Regions from separate parts of the Homo sapiens genome. Here regions 2, 3, 4, 5, 6 and 7 are each linked to region 1. The links are contacts of gene promoters, found by promoter capture Hi-C in blood cells and fetal thymus (Javierre and others, 2016). All regions are on one chromosome and are shown on one strand. Each heading gives the region's core, a stretch centred on a gene start or on the middle of the fragment in contact. The rest is flanking DNA. Distances are from core to core; before and after follow the strand shown. Region 1 holds the start of POLQ (DNA polymerase theta). Region 2 has its middle 6.6 kb from the start of SEC22A. Region 3 overlaps SEC22A (SEC22 homolog A, vesicle trafficking protein). Region 4 holds the start of PARP15 (poly(ADP-ribose) polymerase family member 15). Region 5 overlaps SEC22A (SEC22 homolog A, vesicle trafficking protein). Region 6 has its middle 3.9 kb from the start of SEMA5B. Region 7 overlaps PARP14 (poly(ADP-ribose) polymerase family member 14).

The links. Contacts are between HindIII fragments. The CHiCAGO score rates a contact against its expected background, and 5 or more counts as called.
Region 2: a contact is called between a fragment that was not itself captured here and the fragment with the promoter of POLQ in region 1, in 1 of 17 cell types (total B cells). The highest score is 5.9, in total B cells.
Region 3: a fragment that was not itself captured here is called in contact with the fragment with the promoter of POLQ in region 1 in 2 of 17 cell types (naive B cells and total B cells); the score reaches 8.1 in naive B cells.
Region 4: a contact is called between the fragment with the promoter of PARP15 here and the fragment with the promoter of POLQ in region 1, in 2 of 17 cell types (neutrophils and activated CD4 T cells). The highest score is 6.3, in neutrophils.
Region 5: a fragment that was not itself captured here is called in contact with the fragment with the promoter of POLQ in region 1 in 1 of 17 cell types (fetal thymus); the score reaches 5.1 in fetal thymus.
Region 6: a fragment that was not itself captured here is called in contact with the fragment with the promoter of POLQ in region 1 in 10 of 17 cell types (total B cells, naive B cells, naive CD8 T cells and 7 more); the score reaches 17.7 in total B cells.
Region 7: a fragment that was not itself captured here is called in contact with the fragment with the promoter of POLQ in region 1 in 1 of 17 cell types (naive CD8 T cells); the score reaches 7.1 in naive CD8 T cells.

The regions. Positions count from the first base shown.
Region 1 is chr3:121,544,664-121,547,363 of GRCh38, forward strand. It overlaps POLQ (DNA polymerase theta), which reads right to left and starts at 1,325. Exons shown (of 30, transcript NM_199420.4): 1 at 1,052-1,325; 2 at 64-243. The coding sequence starts at 1,214. RefSeq lists enhancers at 1,058-1,287, 1,179-1,473. The HindIII fragment of the contact is 11,524 bases long and covers 1-2,700 here.
Region 2 is chr3:123,193,974-123,196,673 of GRCh38, forward strand. No RefSeq gene overlaps it. Among named protein-coding and RNA genes, the nearest start is that of SEC22A, 6.6 kb to the right of the region's middle. The HindIII fragment of the contact is 6,224 bases long and covers 1-2,700 here.
Region 3 is chr3:123,251,530-123,254,229 of GRCh38, forward strand. All of the region lies in intron 5 of SEC22A (SEC22 homolog A, vesicle trafficking protein), which reads left to right. Among named protein-coding and RNA genes, the nearest start is that of SEC22A, 51 kb to the left of the region's middle. The HindIII fragment of the contact is 414 bases long and covers 1,050-1,463 here.
Region 4 is chr3:122,576,318-122,579,017 of GRCh38, forward strand. PARP15 (poly(ADP-ribose) polymerase family member 15) reads left to right here and starts at 1,333. Exons shown (of 12, transcript NM_001113523.3): 1 at 1,333-1,536. The coding sequence starts at 1,351. RefSeq lists an enhancer at 1,300-1,579 and a silencer at 1,640-1,689. The HindIII fragment of the contact is 6,929 bases long and covers 1-2,700 here.
Region 5 is chr3:123,214,401-123,217,116 of GRCh38, forward strand. All of the region lies in intron 2 of SEC22A (SEC22 homolog A, vesicle trafficking protein), which reads left to right. Among named protein-coding and RNA genes, the nearest start is that of SEC22A, 14 kb to the left of the region's middle. The HindIII fragment of the contact is 1,089 bases long and covers 719-1,807 here.
Region 6 is chr3:123,030,285-123,032,984 of GRCh38, forward strand. No RefSeq gene overlaps it. Among named protein-coding and RNA genes, the nearest start is that of SEMA5B, 3.9 kb to the left of the region's middle. The HindIII fragment of the contact is 211 bases long and covers 1,285-1,495 here.
Region 7 is chr3:122,688,922-122,691,621 of GRCh38, forward strand. The region is part of intron 3 of PARP14 (poly(ADP-ribose) polymerase family member 14); the gene reads left to right. Among named protein-coding and RNA genes, the nearest start is that of PARP14, 9.4 kb to the left of the region's middle. The HindIII fragment of the contact is 2,756 bases long and covers 46-2,700 here.

The DNA.
Region 1 (2,700 bases), core at 75-2,574:
CAATAGAGTATTCTTTACATTCATATCTTAAAAATAGTAATTAGTTTACATAAATTTGGATACCTGAATAAACTAAATTCTTTCCTTCCAGGACTTGTCCAAGCAAAAGGCACTCTGCCTGCCATTCAAACATCTTTTTTACACCAAAACTGTGGTATTTTTCCAGAACTGCTTTAGGAAGTCCCCAGTTTGCCAATAGTAGCTTGTCTCTTTCGTAGTCAGGAACTGTAGGCTTGCATTCTCCTTTTAGGAAAAAGAAAAAATTAAAATTTAATTTACTTCTAATATATGAGTTTTACAGTTAGCCCTTCACCGTGTGTTGGAATTCCTATGTGTTGAAATGAAGCTCTTTAAAGCACATCCTGACTTCAAGAATCTTATGAGAAATTGACCATGTATAGAAAAGTAATAAATTGTTATTTACTGCATATAATAAAAATTCCTTAAAAGCCTCAAACGAACAAAAAAGCGTGCAATACACAGTAGATAAAGAGTGTTGGAATTACGGGTGTAGTTGGGGGAGGAGGGCAATATGCAAGCATTACAAAGCTAAGTTAGGTGAGTTTCTATTTATAGTAAGTTTTAGTTCCATGACGACTGCACAACTAACGATTTTAAAAAACTGGGTCGACATCCACGGGACACCCAACCAATCTCATTACGAATCCCTTCCAGCCTTCCCCTGGACGCCGAACAGCCTGTGCCGTACTCCAGGCCCAACAATCCTGTCTTAAGGGTCTGTAAGGAGTACTGGGTACTACCAGGAACGAGCCGCCCAACAGATGATGGGATGAAGCTAACTAGGAAGTTGTTTCTCTAAAGGTCGAAAGATCCAGAAGCCACGTGAACATTAATACCAGGCGATCACTGAAAACACGCGTATGTCTGAACAGAAAGTGACCTGCCACACCAGGCCCCAGTCACAGAGAAGGGGAGTAGAAGCCCAATGGGGTATGCAACGAAGCAAGTCCCGTGGGGTGAGGACACCTCCCGACCCATGGCCCGGCGGAGCTGCCCCCGTTGCCCGCGGCCTCCCGGGTTCCTGGAGCACCTGCAGCTGCGGCCTTCAGGCAGCGACCAAGGCCGGGCGGCGGGCTCAGCACGGACCCGGAGAGGAACTGGGGGCTGGCACTGCTGTCACCGCCGCTTCCCGAGAACGAATCTGAGCCTGATTCTGAACGCCGCCGTTTCCCACTCCGACGCAGAAGATTCATGGCAAACTCTTCTCGGCCGATCAGGGCAAGCCACAGTCCCAGCGTCCTCCCTCTCGGGAGAACCCTGGCCTGGCAACAGCTGCGGACATCTTCCCGCCAGTCTTCAAACTCAAACCTCCCGGCCCGCCCCGGAACCATAGAGTTCTCCGTGGCTTAAGTAACCCGAAAGCCATAGACTCGTGGGGAAGGAGCGGCTCTCGCTGGCGTCTAAGACTTCCGGCCTCCAACCTCCTGGTTGGTTAATATGAGAGATAGATTAAAGAGGAAGAATACAGAATCTACAGTTATAACCATACTGACCTAAAAGCCTTCCTTCTCCTTTTGTCCATTTCTGGTTTGAATAGGAAGGCCATGCTAACTTCATAAAATGGGCTGCCCATAATAGGTAGATCAGGGAAGTAGCTCTTCTTAACGTATTGGTATTCTGTAAAAAATTATTTCAGATTGAGAAGCATTATGCAAGATAGCCTAGGGTTTCTAATAGAGCATAATTTCCTCCTTTCTCCTAGTATATGATGGTAGGGCAGGGCTATTTCTGAACACAATTTCCATTTTAGCCAGCATGCATTGTGAGGAATATGTAATGAGGAATTGGGGATTGCTGGCTGACAGACCCCTGAGACACTATATGAACGCCGCGAGGAAGGGGCTCTGAATATACCCCAGGGATCGTTATGAGCCAAGAGCTTAGTAATGCATCTGTGTTGTCCCTTTTGTAAAGGTAGAAGCGAACGAGTTCTGAACGTAAAACGGTGACCATTCATTACCTAGTTGCATAATTCATTTCACCAAGCAAAACTAGTAGGCCCTAAGCCTGACCTGAAGAGGCTGTGCAGTTCTAGAGCACTAAAAATCTCAAAAGGTCCAGTCCAATTAAAAAAAAAAAAAACACTCGAATACAATCTGGAAAATAGCATTCGAACCATCAATTCCTTCCGTGAAAACATTTTTTTGATTTAAATGACAATATTCTAAAGTTCCACGAGATGGCGACATTACTCCGTGAATGAAACATTTTTCTCTTGGCCTTTTACGCAATCAACAACTATTTACTGAGTATCTACTGTAAGCTAGCCACTGGGTAAATGGCAGTGAAATGGCATAAAATGGTTCCTGCTCTCAAAGAGAAAGAGTCTAGAGAATAAGGCAGACATTAAACAAGTCAGTTAATGAAGTGTGCCATATGCTTGGGCAGAAATGAAGAGTACTATTAAAGAAATAAAAGAGATCTCGCCGGCCGTGGTGGCTCACGCCTGTAATCCCAGCACTTTGGGAGGCCGAGATGAGTGCATCACCTGAGGTCAGGAGCTCTAGACCAGCCTGGCCAACATGGTGAAACCCCGTCTCTACAAAAATACAAAAAATTAGCCGGGTATGATGGCGGGTGCCTGTAATCCCAGCTACTCTGGAGGCTGAGGCGGGAGAATTGCTTGAACCTGGGAGGCGGTGGTTGTAGTGAGCCGAGATCGCACCACTGCACTCCAAC
Region 2 (2,700 bases), core at 8-2,507, 1.6 Mb after region 1:
ACTGGGAAGTCCAAGATCAAGGCACCAGCAGGTTTGGTATTTGGGGAGGGCCTGATCTCTGCTTCCAAGACGGCACCGTGTTGCTGCATCGTCTAGAGGGGACAAATGCTGTGTCTCACATGGTGGAAGAGTGGAGGAGCATAAACCCACTCCCTCAATCCCTTTTATGAGGGCCTTCACGATTTGATTACTCCTAAAGGCCCCACCTCTTAATGCTATTACATTGGCAATTGAGTTTCAACATATGAATTTTGGAGGATACATTCAGACCATAGCAGTTGTCATTGTCTTTATACATGTTTCTCTCCCCATCCTGTGAGTGCCTTAAAGGAGGGACCATATCATATTTATCGCTGTCACTGCCCAGCACAGAGAGGATGCACAATGTTTGTTGAATATGTGAAGCATTAATTAAAACACAACATTGAATAATAAACCATTTATACCACAGTGGGAATGTTATTTCAGAATTTCCAAGATACAGATAAGAAACTTTTCTTTCTGTTTTTTAGAAATATTGCTGTCAAAGATGGTGCTAACCTGAAAGAAAAATAACATAATATAAATATGACACCTTTGTGTTTAGGACAGCTCTAGACATACAGTGTTAGAGACAAGGAAACGATGTGATGGTGGCAAAACTATTGATGCAAATGCAGCGTTGAGACATCCCTGCTTCCATCCCAGCCCCAGCCTCTCCAGCCCCTCCTGCTGGCAACTCTTTTCCCCTGGTTCTGTAGCGCTCTGTTCCAAGACTCAGACATAATCCTACCCAAATACACATCTGCACCTCCCCCCGCCCCGCCCCGCCGCCCCAGCAACTCCACCTGGAGCCTGGCGGTGGAGTTGGGGGCTCCCTCAGACTGGCTGCACAAAGGTGACTTCATAGTCTTAACCATTTATCTCCCGTCACAGATTAAAAGCCCAGGCCTTCCAGAGAGCTGGCTCACATACCAATAGAGAAATCCGAAAGTGCAAAAAAAAAAACACGGGATGGGGGGAGTGCTACAAATAATCTTGATTATATATTATGAAAAAGTAACGGTATAAAACAGTGCTGTCCCATAAAAATAGAATGTAAGCTACATATGTGATTTTTTTCCAGTAGCCACCTTAAAAAAGTAAAAGGAAACAGATAACATTGACCATAATATATTTTAAACTACATATCAAGATATTATCATTTCAACACATATAATCAATATTTTTAAAGTTCTACATTGCTTCAATTTTAAAACTTAATCTTAACTAAAATAAAATTAAAATGATCAAAATTAATAAATTTAGTATTGATACAGTACTACTATCTAATTTACTGTCCATATTCAAATATCATCAGTTGTCCAAATAGTGTTCTTTATGGCTATTTCTTCCTCTAGTCTAGGGTCTAATTCAGGATCCTACACTGCATTTAGTTTTCGTGTCTCTTTAGTCTCCTTTAATCTGGAAAATATCCTCAGTCTTTATCTTTTTAACATTGACATTTTTGAAGGGTATGGGGCCATTTGTTATGAAAAATGTCTTTCAATTAGGGTTACTTTAATGTTTCCATGTGATTATTTTCTGGTTTCGCATTTTTGGTGGGAATCCTACGGAAACAATGTATGTCTGTGGCAGACACAGAAATTCCCTGTCTGGGTCCTCCTTCAAGGGAGGACTTGCCACCCAGCTGCAGGGAGAGTCAGCAGGTAGCCTCCAGCTGATAGCTTTTTGTATGTGCTTCACCTTTGGAGAGCTACCTTGTTTGATATCATGCCCATCTTGGGGGAATCCACATCTGGTGACTTTATGAAGCAAGGATATAAAAGCCTGACCATTCTGATCCGACATAAGACCAAAGGTATCAGACATTTAAGATATATGGAGAAAAGAGTAGGTAGAGGATAATGTATCAGATGGCTATTTTTTTTTTTTCTTTGACACAGAGTCTCATTCTACTGCCCACGCTGGAGTGCAGTGCCACCATCTCGGCTCACTTCAGCCTCCACCTCCCAGGTTCAAGTGATTCTCCTGCCTCAGCCTCCCAAGTAGCTGGGATTACAGGTGCCCGCCATGCCCAGCTATTTTTTTTTTTTTTTTTTTGTATTTTTAGTAGAGACAGGGTTTCACCACGTTGGTCAGGCTGGTCTCGAACTCCTGACCTCAGGTGATCTACCCGCCTCAGCCTCCCAAAGAGCTGGGATTACAGGCGTGAGCCACCGCGCCCAGCCCTAATATGTATCTTTAACTTATCACGTTCTACCTTCAAATACAGTTACACCACTTCATGCATGGTGTTAAAAACCTTCTAACAGTATATATTCATTCCCCTTTCCCTTACAATATCATTAACATATGTTTTACTTCTTCATTTGTTGTAAACATTTTTATTTTTGTTACACTTTTGCTTTAAGTGATTAAAGCAAAAGTGGTAACAAAAACAATTTGTTACCACTTTTGCTTTACGTGGTTAATTATATACATTTTCAAAAGAGGAAAAGTTTTATATTAATTCATATATTCACATTTTCTGATACTTTTTGTTCCTTTTGTGTGAATTTGAGTTTCTTTTTTTCTTTTTTCTTTTTTTTTTTTTTTTGATACAGAATCTCGCTCTGTCGCCCAGGCTGGAGTGCAGTGGCGCAAGCTCCGCTCACTGCAAGCTCCGCCTCCCGGATTCATGCCGTTCTCCTGCTTCAGCCTCCAGAGTAGCTGGGGCTA
Region 3 (2,700 bases), core at 7-2,506, 1.7 Mb after region 1:
CATAACCCACCTGAAGTATTCCACATACACTCATTTAGTAGTTGAGGTTCCTGAGAGAGTGATTCTAAGAGGAGCAAGGAAACAACAGAATGCAAAGTTGGGGATAATGTAGTCCACAAGTAGTTTGTCATTCATAGGTAATTTTAAAAGATTTTCCAGCAAATTCTGATCCTCTCACCTAAATGAAAATCAGTACCTTTGCAAATCCACTTGACCAAAAGTAGAAACTCCCATTGTTCCAGTTATCGAGGACTTTATATCTGCATTGAGTACAACAATGTTCTGGTAAGTGACTAGTGCTTGGGAATATTTTTCCTTTCCTTTTCCCACTGTGAAGATAAATGAAGGAGCACTATATAGTGTTAGAATTCTCTGCTTTGTAAAGATTCTGTGTCCTAAAAGATGGAATGGATGATAAGTGAACAAAAGGAGAAAATGAAGTGTCAGAATGTAAATGGACACAATGATAAACTTTAGAGGTTTAAACCAGATAGGTTCAAGAGTGCAAACTAGAGTGATTTTCCGAGTACATCCTTAGCCCGACTTAACCTGAAAGAAAATACATACAAAATTGGGAACCTGAGGTCTCTTACTTTTAATTTTCCCTTATTGAAGTTTTATCATTGTTCACAACTTGTATTGGATAAAATATCCTTTTTATTTTCACTAAAGCCATTAGTCTTAAGACATACTCTTAGCCCTCTTTCTGGTTGATCATTACATTTTACATTAGGAATAATCTCAAACGTCACTCTGGATAATTTTTGGTTAGTAAAGGTAGAACTTTCTGAGGTAGTCTGCTCTGAAGACTTGAGTGCAAATCCCAGGACACAGGACTTAAAGTTTTATCTATTTTGAAGTTACCTACAGTGGTGTTATTCATATCACAATGTTAGAGGAGGGGGAAGGGCAGTACCCCAGATTGAGTGGGCTTACTGCTTCTCTGATACTTGATTTAAGAGCAAAGGACTTATTTGGGAATTATAATTTTAGATCTGACTGAAAATATGTAGTGTATTTCCTGAGTTTGAGTAATATATAGACATTAAAGCTTACTTTTTTAAAGCCATGAATTCTAAACACTCTTTCTGAATGCTGAAAATGACTGCTACATTTATCTCTAGTATCTTGAGGCTCATTTAAATTTGAGGACCCACATGAATCAACATTCTTGCATGTTATTAATGGTGTTTGAAGATTCAGCACAAGTTTGTTTCTTCCAGATTATTAACTGCCTCACAGGGTGATAGCAAGGGATTTATTCAAATACGTAGCACTGAAGTTTTTCTTGGTATCTAAGTTTAAACTGGGGAGGCTTAGGATGGGTATAGTTTTTTTAAGTTCATAAGTTTATTTTGGAGTCCACAGTAATATATAAATTAGATTATTTTCACTTCTTAACTTTGCTCTGAGTTTAGAGATGGTAATAAGTTTTTTGTGAATTGATACCTTATGAAGGCATAAGCTTTTTTCACATTGGCTTATATTACATGTATTTCTTTAAGGCTCAACCTTGAAACAATTACATTAATTAGGCTAATACCAACCTGGAAGTAATTTGCATATGGCACATTAGAAAAAAAATGGAATCTTTTGATATCTCAGTAGAAATGCTGACCTGGAAGTTAAGATACCTGGGTCCCATCTGCCAGTAACTTTGTGACCCTGCATGGGTTATTTTACCTTCTTGTATCTCATCTTGCAATTCTGCAAGATGAAGATTTTAGACTACATAAGCCCAGGGGCCATTTCTTAGGTCTTAGGACAGACAATCTAAGATTTCTCGGATTCTAAAATTGTTTGTAAAAGCTTCTACAAAGCAGAAGTCATCAACTTGCTTTTATTTCTTATCTTCTTTCCCATAGACTTGTTGATGCCTTTTAAAGAAATTATGTCCCTGCTGGCCAGGCACGGTGGCTCACGCTTGTAATCCCAGCACTTTGGGAGGCCAAGGCAGGTGGATCACGAGGTCAGGAGTTCAAGACCAGCCTGGCCAATGTGGTGAAACCCCATCTCTACTAAAAATACAAAAATTAACTGAGCGCGGTGGCAGGTGCCTATAATCCCAGTTACTCCGCAGGCTGAGGCAGGAGAATTGCTTGAACCTGGGAGGCGGAGGTTGTAGTGAGCCGAAGATTGTGCCATTGCACTCTAGCCTGGGCGACAGAGCAAGACTCCATCTCAAAAAAAAAAAAAAAAAGAAAGAAAGAAATTATGTCCCTGCTAATACTTAACAGAACTTTTTCATTTATTTAGTGACATATCTATGCTAAGGTGTGGTGCTTACTTTCTTTCAAAAGAAATAAAAGCATTTTTTCTGATTATATGCTAATTCATTGTTAAAGAATTAGGAGATCCTACAAGACAGTGCCATAAAATAGAAGATAATAAAGATTAAATAACATTAAAAAGTGGAGAAAGAAAATAAAAAAGTTATAAATAAATAAAATAAAAATAACAAAAAAGAGTTGGGGGAAATGTATAAAGAATAAAATAAAAATTATCACCAAATTTTCATACATGTACATGTATCCATTATGTCCTTTTTTCACTTAATATTAAAAAGTAAATATTCCCTAATTATTATAAACATTTTAATAGTATCCTCCTAATACATTGTGTGGCTATTATATGAGGCTTTTGTTTACCTTCATCCTCATCTTTTTTTTTCTTAAAGAGACAGGGTCTCGCTGTGTTGGC
Region 4 (2,700 bases), core at 83-2,582, 1.0 Mb after region 1:
CTACAAGATTTTCCAAAGCACAGTCTATGCTTTCATTCATGTGATCTTTGTTCTGTGTAATCCACCCCCATCGCTGCTCTCTGCATGACAGATGATGAAAAAGGGAACTCTGAAGAGAGAGAGGGAGAGAGAGACACACCTCATTCTCATTCTTCACCTGATTTTCCTCTTAGAAAGTCCCCTACTCATCATGCAAGGTCTTACTGAAATGCCACTACTATAGAAACTTTTCTCCAATCTTGTCTCTAAATTACAACGAACCACTGATTTCTGTTATCCTAATACTTTATATGTATCTCAATGCAAATACGATACCAAAACCTTTTACCCTGCTCTCTGCCTTGGAGGTGGTACTGAGGGCTGACCTCTAAGTACCACATCAGCTCCATTCTCTGATTACTCATTGGGTTCTGCAGTGGGAGGTACCAGCACGAGATTGGAAGGCACACGGAGAGAGTACTTGGGATGCTTATACTCCCCTGGCTGTCTTCCGAAAGCAGTCATGGGTTCTACCTGCTGGCACTTGGTATAGCTCTTACCAAGTTCAGGAGATGCCCCCTCCCTTGCCCCTTCAGCCTAGATGGTAAGGGGAGGAGGCTACTTCACCATCTCTCAATGGTTTCCTTAACCCTTTGCCCACACCTGTGTAAATAATTTCTTTATTAAATTATCTTCAATTATTAATTTTGAGTATACCATCTGTATACTGCCAGGACTTTTCGTGATACACCAGGTAACAGTATTAATCTATGTTTTATTTCTCCACCTCCTACTTCACCCCTCACTCCAAAGAGAGGGGATCTGTGTCTAATTCATCTTTATAATCTTAACACAGTGCCAGGCATATCAAAGGCCTTCAATACGCGTTGATTGAATTAAATAATGCCCTGTTGGGCCAGAGGGGAACCTGACTCCAGCCCTGGCTTAGGGAGCACAGGAGAGAACCCAGTGTATTTTTCTAAATATGGGTGTGTAGGGAGAATTGGGGGGAAAGGAGTGGGATGCCCAACAGAAAAGGAAAGGAATACTGATTCCTGTGTTTTAATGTGCCAGGCATTCTACAGACTTTATCTCATTTAATCTTCATTATAATAACATGAAATAGTTATGGCTGTGCCCACTGTACAGATGCTATTGACTGAGGCTACATAACTAATAAAATTGCAGACCTCAGGATTTTGACCCAGGATTTGTCTGGCAGTAACGTCTGTCCCAAAGGGCGACACAATCCTGAGGCAGCTGTTCGCAAACTCGAGGCCTCAATCTTTGACGGAAGCGGTTTTCAGAGAAAAGAAGTTCGAGGCACAAGCCTGTTGGGTGGGGCGCAACTGCAGTCCCAGCGAGCTGAGGATGGCTGCGCCAGGCCCCCTTCCTGCCGCTGCTCTGAGTCCAGGGGCTCCGACCCCCAGAGAACTTATGCACGGAGTTGCAGGTGTTACTTCCAGAGCCGGACGAGATCGGGAGGCGGGGAGCGTGCTGCCGGCCGGGAACCGTGGGGCGCGGAAGGCCTCCCGGCGCTCTTCCTCCCGGAGTATGGTGAGGAGCGCGGGGGACGGGTGCGGGAAGGGGACAGCAGGGCTGAGCCTGGGGCCCGCAAGACCCAGCAGCCCGAGCGGGCGCAGAGACCCCACGCCACGCACAACCCTCTCTTCTAGGGGGCGCCGACTACACTGACTTCCCTGTTCCGGAAGAGGGGGATGCGTGCTGCTTCTTTTTCCTTAGCATTTCTGGTGGTTTTTTTTTTTTTTCCCTTAAAATTTAAAAGTTCTTTATAAAGTTTGAAAGGATATGAGTCCTTTATTCGTGATATGTGTTATGAATATGTCCTCCCAATTTATTTTTTGTTTTTTGAGTTTGCTTATGGGGGGCTTTTGTTTCTCTTTGCCATGCAAATATTTTAAATTTTGTGTGGCAAGACTTACCAGTCTTTTATTTTATGACGTCTAGACTTTTAGTCATATTTTAATATATGACTTTTAGTCATACTCTTCCCTACACCCAAGTTATAGAAGAGTTCACTCATGCTTGCTTCTAGTACTTGAACTGATGTATTTTTTACATTTAGATCTATAATACATTTGGAGTGTGTTATTGTGTGTGGTTTGAGGAGTGAATCTAATTATTTTTTTTCAAATGGGTATCAAGTGTCCCAACACCATTTATTATAAAGGTCGTCACTGTCCCAGTAACTTGAGATACCAGCTTTATCATGTACTAGACTTTCATATGTGGTTCGGGTATTTCTGGACCTTCTATTTTCATCCATTGACCCGTTTATTCATCTGCTTTAGAGAGGCTTTGCTGTATGTTTTAATGTCAGGGCTAGTCTTCCTAGAGAGTGCTTCCTTGTCACTATTTTCCTAGCTATTCTTGTTGTTTATTTTTCCTTATGAACTTTTCTGATGTATGATCAGTTTAAAAAAAAAAAAGAAAAGCTCTTTGGAATTTTTATTGGGATTGCATTAAATTAATAAATTACAGAGAGCTGATATCTTTAGGTGGTGTTGACATGGTCTAACCTACTGTGCTGTGAAAGATTGAAAATTTGAGTATGTAATGTATATGATATTAAATTGTGAATTGGTGGGACATATGTAACAGCTTTTCAACAATTGTAGATACTGGTACTTCATATCCTCTTAAGGAAAATTTGCCTCCAAATTTTAAGCTGGAAAGTCACTAGAATAACTTTTAAAAACA
Region 5 (2,716 bases), core at 13-2,512, 1.7 Mb after region 1:
ATGGTTGTTTTAGGAATATGACAGCATTCAGAGTGCCAGAGAAACCTTGTTGATTGGGCAGGATGGTGTGTAGTGTGGGGTGTTCAGTTTTGTGATTTCTTCTCACATTCTATAGTGATATTCCAATTCTCTCTATATAAAATTTTAAGGAATTCATCTGTTTTATAAGTCGAAGGGTACTTTCCTTAGACTGTAATGAATTTTTAATGAATAAACTTATGTTACCACTTAAGAAAAAAACATGGCTAAAGTAAGTATGAACCATATGGAAATTAGGTTGGGTCATCTGAGATCTTTAAAACTTTGCAGTTGGCTTTAGAGATTTAAAAATCATAGTTGTACATTTTGAAATCTCTTTATTTAAACAGTAAGATGCTGAAAAGACAAATACCTTTTGGGAAGCCAATCATATCCTATTGTGAATTTTAGTGCAAGAAGTAAAATTTTTTAGTTCTTTCACTGTGAATTCATTTGAAGCCGTATAATCGCTGTGAGCCTCCTAATGTTTTTTCCTTGCCTGAGGGTTCACTTTCTCCCTACACTGCTACCTCCAGCCAGGAATACTGTTTTAGGCTTACCTGCATTTTGGCTTTAGTGTCTAGCAGTGTTTCCCTTTCACTCTTTCGGGAAATTTTCTGATTACTAGAGTAACAACTTAAACTATAACCCAATTATTGAGTACTTGCTATTGCCAGGTACTTTACTGACATTATCATTAAGCTTTCTAACAGCTCTGTGAAGGGCTATTAAATAGAGCTCTTTTCCATTGCCAGGGGCAGACACACAACTCACATTAGCTTAAGGAAAAATGGGTATTTTGAAGGGTAGTGGTGGAGCTGGCTTCACAGATGTTATCAGGAATCTTTCTCATTTCTACAGTCTCTCACCTTTTGCAGATAGATACTCTCTACGACTTGAAAGCACTACACAGACAGCTCCAGGCTTACTTCAGTCCAACTGAGCAACTCCTCTCCATGTCTCAAGAACAAGACATTGTCTTTGCTTGTATAATTGACCATTTCTAGACTGATTAATCATTGTAGTCAGAGGGGATGAGGTACTCTTATTTGGCTAAGACTGCATCACATGTCCTTACCCCTTTGAGCTTTACCAAAGCCATACAGAATGGCGCTGAAGGTAATTCCCCAAAGGGAAAGAGGGAAGGGATGCTGGGCAGGTAGATGCTGGGTAGTGCTATCACTACCCTATTTTACAGATAAGGTAAATGAGACTTAGGAATGTAAAGGAGCTCCTTCAACGTCACAAAAATAGTAAATGATATATATGAACCACAATCTTTTGGATTCAGGCATCGCATTATTATCTGGTAAAAAATGGCTGCTGCTCTTTACCCTTAACCCCTTTCTTGGCAGCATGTGTTCCTAATTCTCCCAATTCTTTTCACTTTTTATGGAGAGAGAAATGAACCAGGGAAGAGAATGAAGGGAAATACCACCCCCCTCTTTTTTTGGTCAATAATAATGAGGAACAGAGTATGTGTGAATCCTAAAATTGATGGGACAGCATTGTCTCATTGTAGACTAGGTGTTTGGCAGGGAGAGGGTGTGGCAGGGAAATGCAACCAACCTATAACTACTAAACCAGTTGGGGGAAGGAGATAACCTGGGTATTCAATTTTCCTATTTTGTCTCATTACTAGTATCACATTCCTTTTCTCCTGCTTATTATGGCAAAATGTACAGCTTTTCAGCACCATGTATGTTAAATAGGCTCTTGTGAACTGGCCTAGGAACCTAATTACTGTTATAGTACAGTTTCTGTGGGAAAATGAGATCTAGATGCAATAAGCTTTGGGAAATATACCCAATATGTAAGTTAGGGATTATCTGATCAGTTATCTAAAAAAGTCAGGATCTTCATTCTCTGGAGTGTGGCTGTGTTAGGGAAGTGAGAAAGGGTGAATTGGGAGATTAACTCTGAAGAAAAGGAAATAAAGATGTCAAAGGCAAACTTTGCTTGTTCTGTGTTTTATCCAAGTCTCTCATGGTGTAATTACCATTGACTTCTTAAAATGATCTCAGATTCTCCTTTAGGTTACTGTTGTAAGTTACCATCATCTGGCATATTTCATATTAATAAATATTTTCATTTTTAATGATGTTAAAATTTATGGCTAAAATGGGTCTTTTATTCATAGGATGATTTATTCATGATGTGGCGCTTCACCATTGGAGGGTAATTGAAAGTTGGCCATGTAAGAAAGGAGTAAGTGAGAAAATAGAAAGTTCCTGGTAAAATGCTACATGTAATGGACACTCAGTGTTACTGAGCCCTCATTCTTATCTCCTTACTGTTCCACTAGTGGCAGAGTCTTTTGTTTTCATCTTGTTTTCTATGAGACATATTTGGTGATAATACAATTCATAAGATATGCTCACTTTGTTAATGTTGAGCCCCTCTATTCAATATTTTATTTTTATTTTTAGAGATGGGGTTTTGCTCTGTTGCCCAGGCAGGAGTACAGTGGCACAATCAGCTCATAGCACCCTTGAACTCCTGGGTTCACGTGATCCTCCTGCCTCAGCCTCCTGAGTAGCTGTGACTATGGGTGTGCATCACCACACCTGGCTAATTTAAAACAATTTTTTGTAGAGATGGCATCTCACTTTGTTGTCTAGGCTGGTCTCTAACTCCTGGGCTCAAGTAGTCCTTCTGCCTCAGCCTCCCAAAACATTGGGATTACAGGTGTGAGCCG
Region 6 (2,700 bases), core at 140-2,639, 1.5 Mb after region 1:
TAATTGCTTCTGTTAGGAGCAATTCTTCTTCTACCGAAACATTGTAATTAAGCAGAATGGAAATATAGTAATTAACACAGTGTTATCTCAAGCAAACAAGCTAAAGAGCGGTGAATATAGGGGGTGACGGAGTTTTTAGGATTCACTCTTGACCTAGAAATTCCAAACTTATCTTGAACTAAGGTTGAAAGAGTTTAAGAAATAGATCCAAATTCTCATGCTCAAGAGCAGGAAAGGGTGGAAAAGCTAGGAGCACAACACTGTCTTCTTCCTCCCACCTGAGGGCATTTTCTGGGAGATAAAGCTAAAAAATGAGTGCAGGCTCTCCCAAGAGGCCATCTCTCTCTCTCTCTCTCTCTCTCTCTCTCTCTCTCTCTCTCTCTCTCTCTCTCTCCCCTCTATGTGTGTGTGTGTGTGTACACATGCTTGTGCATAGCCCAGGCACAAACACAAACCTTGTCTTGCAGCAAAAGGCAAACAGCCAGTCATATACTAATAGGAGACAGAGAATTGAAAATAAAAAGACAGCACGTATAATGTCCAAATTGTTTTCTGCTCCCAGAATTGCCTGCTCATTGTGCCTGGGGATGGCAAAGAAAAAAGAAAATTCCCACCCCAGAAGTCATTGTCAATTTGTGAACCAAAACCTTGCTCAGGTCAGAGGAACTGAAGTGTCACTGAATGACTGCTTTGCCATTGTCCTGAACTAATGTGAAAGAAGAGATCTTCCTTCCTTCCTTCCTTCCTTCCCATTTAAGTGTCACTCACTAAGCTAGGCAGAGAGGTCATAGGAAGAGCTTCACAGGCAGGCAGGGGAGGCAGACGTAATCATAGCAAATGCAAGGACTGCCACAGGATGGGAGCTCTGCGGGCACATGGAGAGCCAGTTACCATCCTACCAAACAGGACAAAGAAGTCTTCATTGGAAATGGCCATTCTAGCTGAGAATGGAAGATAAGGCAGGAATTTGCCAGACAGAGAAGCAGGAGGAGGCAGAGTATTCCAGGCAGAGGAAGTAGCATGTATAAAAGCACAAGGCGATATAATTAGATTTCTGTTTGAAGAATTACTTGCCCCTGGTTAACAGATTCAGAGAGAGCTGAAGCAGTAAATGTGAGCAGGTGTTTCATGTGGTGGAAAGAGCACCGCACCAGCAGTTAGGGCTCCCCAGTCCTAGGATGAGCTGGGCCACTGATGAGCTGAGTGTCCTTGGACAAGCCTCTTAATCTCTCCAACCTTAGCTCCTCCTGGATAAAATGAAAGGGGTTGATCCACTGGTTTGTAAGCTTCTCCTTGCACATGTATTCTATGATTCTGTCTCTACCTGAAGATACTTCTTTAAATCCTGCTCTACATTATGCTCTTTACCGTATTTGCACACTTGTTCCTTTCCTTGTGTATAGCACTTTACAGTTTACAAAACTATTTGCCATATACTATCCCCTTTGACCTTCACAGCCATGTGAGGGAGACAGCTACACTGAAGACCTAGATAAGCTTGTCCAGTCACTGGCTGTAAACCTCTCTGTGCGGATGATGCCCAAGTTTGTATCTGCAGCTCCGGCCCTCTCGCTCTCTCTTAAAATCTGGATGTATAGAACCAACTGCCTGCCCCTCCTCTGCATGACCATCTAAGAGACATCTCTATCTTAACATACCCAACACTTAACTTCTGATTTGTTTTTCCAAGCCAGCTCCTCCCTCAGTCTTCCCCATCCTAGTAAGTAAAAACTCCATTCTTCCAGTTCCTCAAGGTCAAAAGCTTGAAGTCATTTCATACCCTCCATTCAGACCATCCATAAATCCTGTCGTCTCTATCTTTGAAATATTTTCAGAATCTTACCATTTCTCCCCACCTCTTCTACTTGTGCCCTAGTTCAAACCACTCTCTTCTCTCCCCTGGATGTTTGCTCTGCCATTTCTAACCTTTGTACCTACAGTCTGTTCTCCACACGGAAGCTGTCCTAATTCAGATCCTATCACTCCTCTGCTCAAAAACCTTCTATGGCTCCCCAGCTCTCTAGAGAAAAAGCCTTAGCAGCCCCACAAGGCCTGTCTGACATTATCTGCTAGCGCTCTCCCTATCCTCACTTCTCTCAGGCTTCCCCAGCCTCTCTGCTATTCCTCACACACCCAAGGCTCTCACCTCAAGGCCTTTGTACTTGATGCTCTCTCTGCCTGGAAAGCTCTTTTGCCAAATGTCCACATAGGTCATTTCCTCACTTCCTTTAATCTCTGCTCAAATATCAATTCATCAGAGATGTATTACCATCTTTTCAAAAATGACAAATACTTGTCATTATCACCATCTGACATTGTACATATTTATTGTCTGTCTCCCCTGACCAGAATATAAATTCCACAGGAGCAGAGGCCTTGCCTGCTTTGTTCATCACTATAGCCCCAGCTTACAGAACAGGGCTTGGTTTTTGTTTGTTTGGTGGTTTCTTTTAAAGGTACAAAATAATGATTTAATAAATGAATGATTATTATCCTCATTTTACAGATAGGAATCAGGGATGCAATTGGTAATTTTCAGAGCTAGGCTTGAACTGAGATTTTTCCATATAAATTTTTTTCTCCAATTGCTTATTAGTTAATATTTATATTAGCACTTAAAAACTCTTTAATAGAAAATGTATATTATAGTAAAACATGCTAATTGTTTTTCAACCCAGTTAACCACCTGCAGCATTCCAA
Region 7 (2,700 bases), core at 174-2,673, 1.1 Mb after region 1:
AGATCAGGTGAAGTCAGCACTGAGCTAATGTCCTGTTCCAGGATAAGCTTAGTTGGGCTGGGTCTGAAAGGTGGAAACCAGCACTTGGAAGGTCCTGGAGAAGAGACAAGGGCAAGAGCAGAGAAATACTGCTTACCTGTGGTCGGAAATTCTGGTGTTTTCAAATCCATATCCCCAGCCTGGACTCCTCTCTCAATTCCAGAACTTCTGTCTGACCTTCCTGTTGGGAAGTATATTAGAGCCAACATGCCTGAAGCCACATGTGTCATCTTCCTCCCCAAGCAAGGGCCCTTTCTGGCTTCCTCATTTCTCTTGAAGTACACAATCAGTCTGCTCGTCACCTACTAGACATTTCACGCATCACTCCTTTCACATCTGCTGATCATAGAGACCTATTTATTTTATTTTATTGTTTTTGGAGAGAGGGTTTCATTCTGTTGCTCAGGCTGTCTTGGCTCACTGCAGCCTCGACCTCCCTGGCTCAAGCAATCCTCCCACAGCAGCCTCCTAAGTAGCTGGGGCTATTATAACATGCATTACCATGCCCAGCCAATTTTTAACATTTTTTGTGGAGTCGTGGTCTCACTATGTTACCCAGGCTGGTCTTGAACTCCTGGCCCCAAATGACCCTCCCGCCTTGGCCTCCCAGAGTGCTGAGATTACAGGCATGAGCCACTGCACCCAGCCTCATTTTCTTTTAAAGTTTTCCTTATCCATCCTTCTCTCACCACGGGCCCTTCCTTTTTACCTCACAAGTTCAACATGGCAGGAGCTCCCTGCCTGCTCTGTCTGTGTCTGCCACCCTTCTCCTTAAACCTGACCAGCCCTTTGCACTATTGCTAAATAGCCTGCCATCCTTTTCATGGAAACCTTCCATGACTCACCCTTACCACAAGCTGGGAGATAAAGTCCAGACCACCTTCTGGATCTAGTCTGCTTTTCTGGCCTCATTTTCTTCATTCTGCACAATTGTGCGCCTTTTGAGCCACATCAGTCAAATCACTGTTTTCTAAATTGTCTGATGCAGTTGCAGCACTCTGCCTGTGCTTCTGTTGCTCACCATTCCCTCTAGCCCACTTTTCTCTACCCAATTCCACATACCCTTCAAGACCTGCTGAACTTCCTCCTCTTCTCTCAAGTCTTTCCATGCCAGCCCAGCCCTTTTATCTCTTTCTGGGACTCTTGGCCTGATTGTTAATGCTCTTTTTTGGTCAATTAAGCCTTTCTTGTGGTGAAGCGTCTAATATTGATGGGATTATAAAACTATATTGCTGGAAAGATTCTTTCAGTCCAGTTCACTTAGTCCTATACCCTCATTTTATGATTAAGAGACATGCCCAAGGTCACATGGCTAAAGAGTGGCAGCAGGGATTAAACACATATAGCCTCCTCCCTAGCCCAGCAGTCATTGTGATTTGTCATACCTGTCTCACTTAGTGCTAATTTATGTAGTTGCTTTATGCTTAAGCTATTTTTTTTTTAATTTAGCATGAGTGTGTGTGCATGGCATGATAGCCAGCACACAACAGAGTGGTCTAACTGTTGTAACAAACAACCTCCCAAATCAGTAACCTAACACAACACAAGTTTGTTTGTTTATTTATTCATTTATTTTTCTGAGACGGAATCGCCCAGACTGGAGTGCAGTGGTACAATCTCGGCTCACTGCAACCTCCGCCTCCCAGCTTCAAGCGATTCTCCAGCCTCAGCCTCCTGAGTAGCTGGGATTAGAGGCGTGTGTTACCACACTCGGCTAATTTTTGTATTTTTGGTAGAGACAGGGTTTCATCACATTGGCCAGGCTAGTCTGGAACTCCTGATGTCAAGTGATCCGCCTGCCTCGTTCTCCCAAAGTGCTGGGATTACAGGCATGAGCCACTGCGCCTGGCCACAACACAAGTTTATTTCTCCTTCGCATCACAGTTCAGTGTAGTTGGCAGCTGTGATGGTGGTGGGAGTGTCAGTCACTTCATGTGGTCATTCAGGGACCCAGGCTCCTTCCACCCTTTGACACCATTATCTTTAAATGTGGTTTCCAAGGTCACTGCAAGGGAGAATGGGGTTTCATATTAAGGATATTTATATTGGCCAGGCCTGAAGGTGGAATTCACTTCCACCCATATTCCATTAACTGCAGGGACACTACTGTTGAAACTGAACTGCAGAAAACTTGAGAAATATTGTCCAGGAAGTAAGCAAAATGGATTTGGTGCACACAGAGCATTTTATGTGGCCACTGCGAACATTTACACATGTCATTTTCCTCATATACCTCCATTAGAAAATCTGTAAATTTCTTAACTAATGTTTTTTTATATTCTTACTTCTCCTTACATCCAGGGTCTTGAACACGATAAGAGTCCCCATTGAAAAACTGTCCACAGAATGCCTAAAGATCAGATCGTACCCACCATGCTTCAGTGGACAAGCATACAGTGAGACTGACCTTGTGTGTATGTGTAACTCATTTTTACAGTCAACAGTGGAGAGGAATGAGTCAGCTGGGTGATTGCCATTCAGCGGGCTTCGTATACAGCAGGCCTTGGCCATTTCACTTTCTGTGTGTATTCCTTAATCATTTGCTATAGGGATCCTTTTTTCTTTTCAGTGATGGGAACTTAACTATTTTTTGGAGTATAATGTGTTAGGTGATACCCATGTTTGGGCATCATCAGATAGTCTTGCTTTCCTCCAGTGACC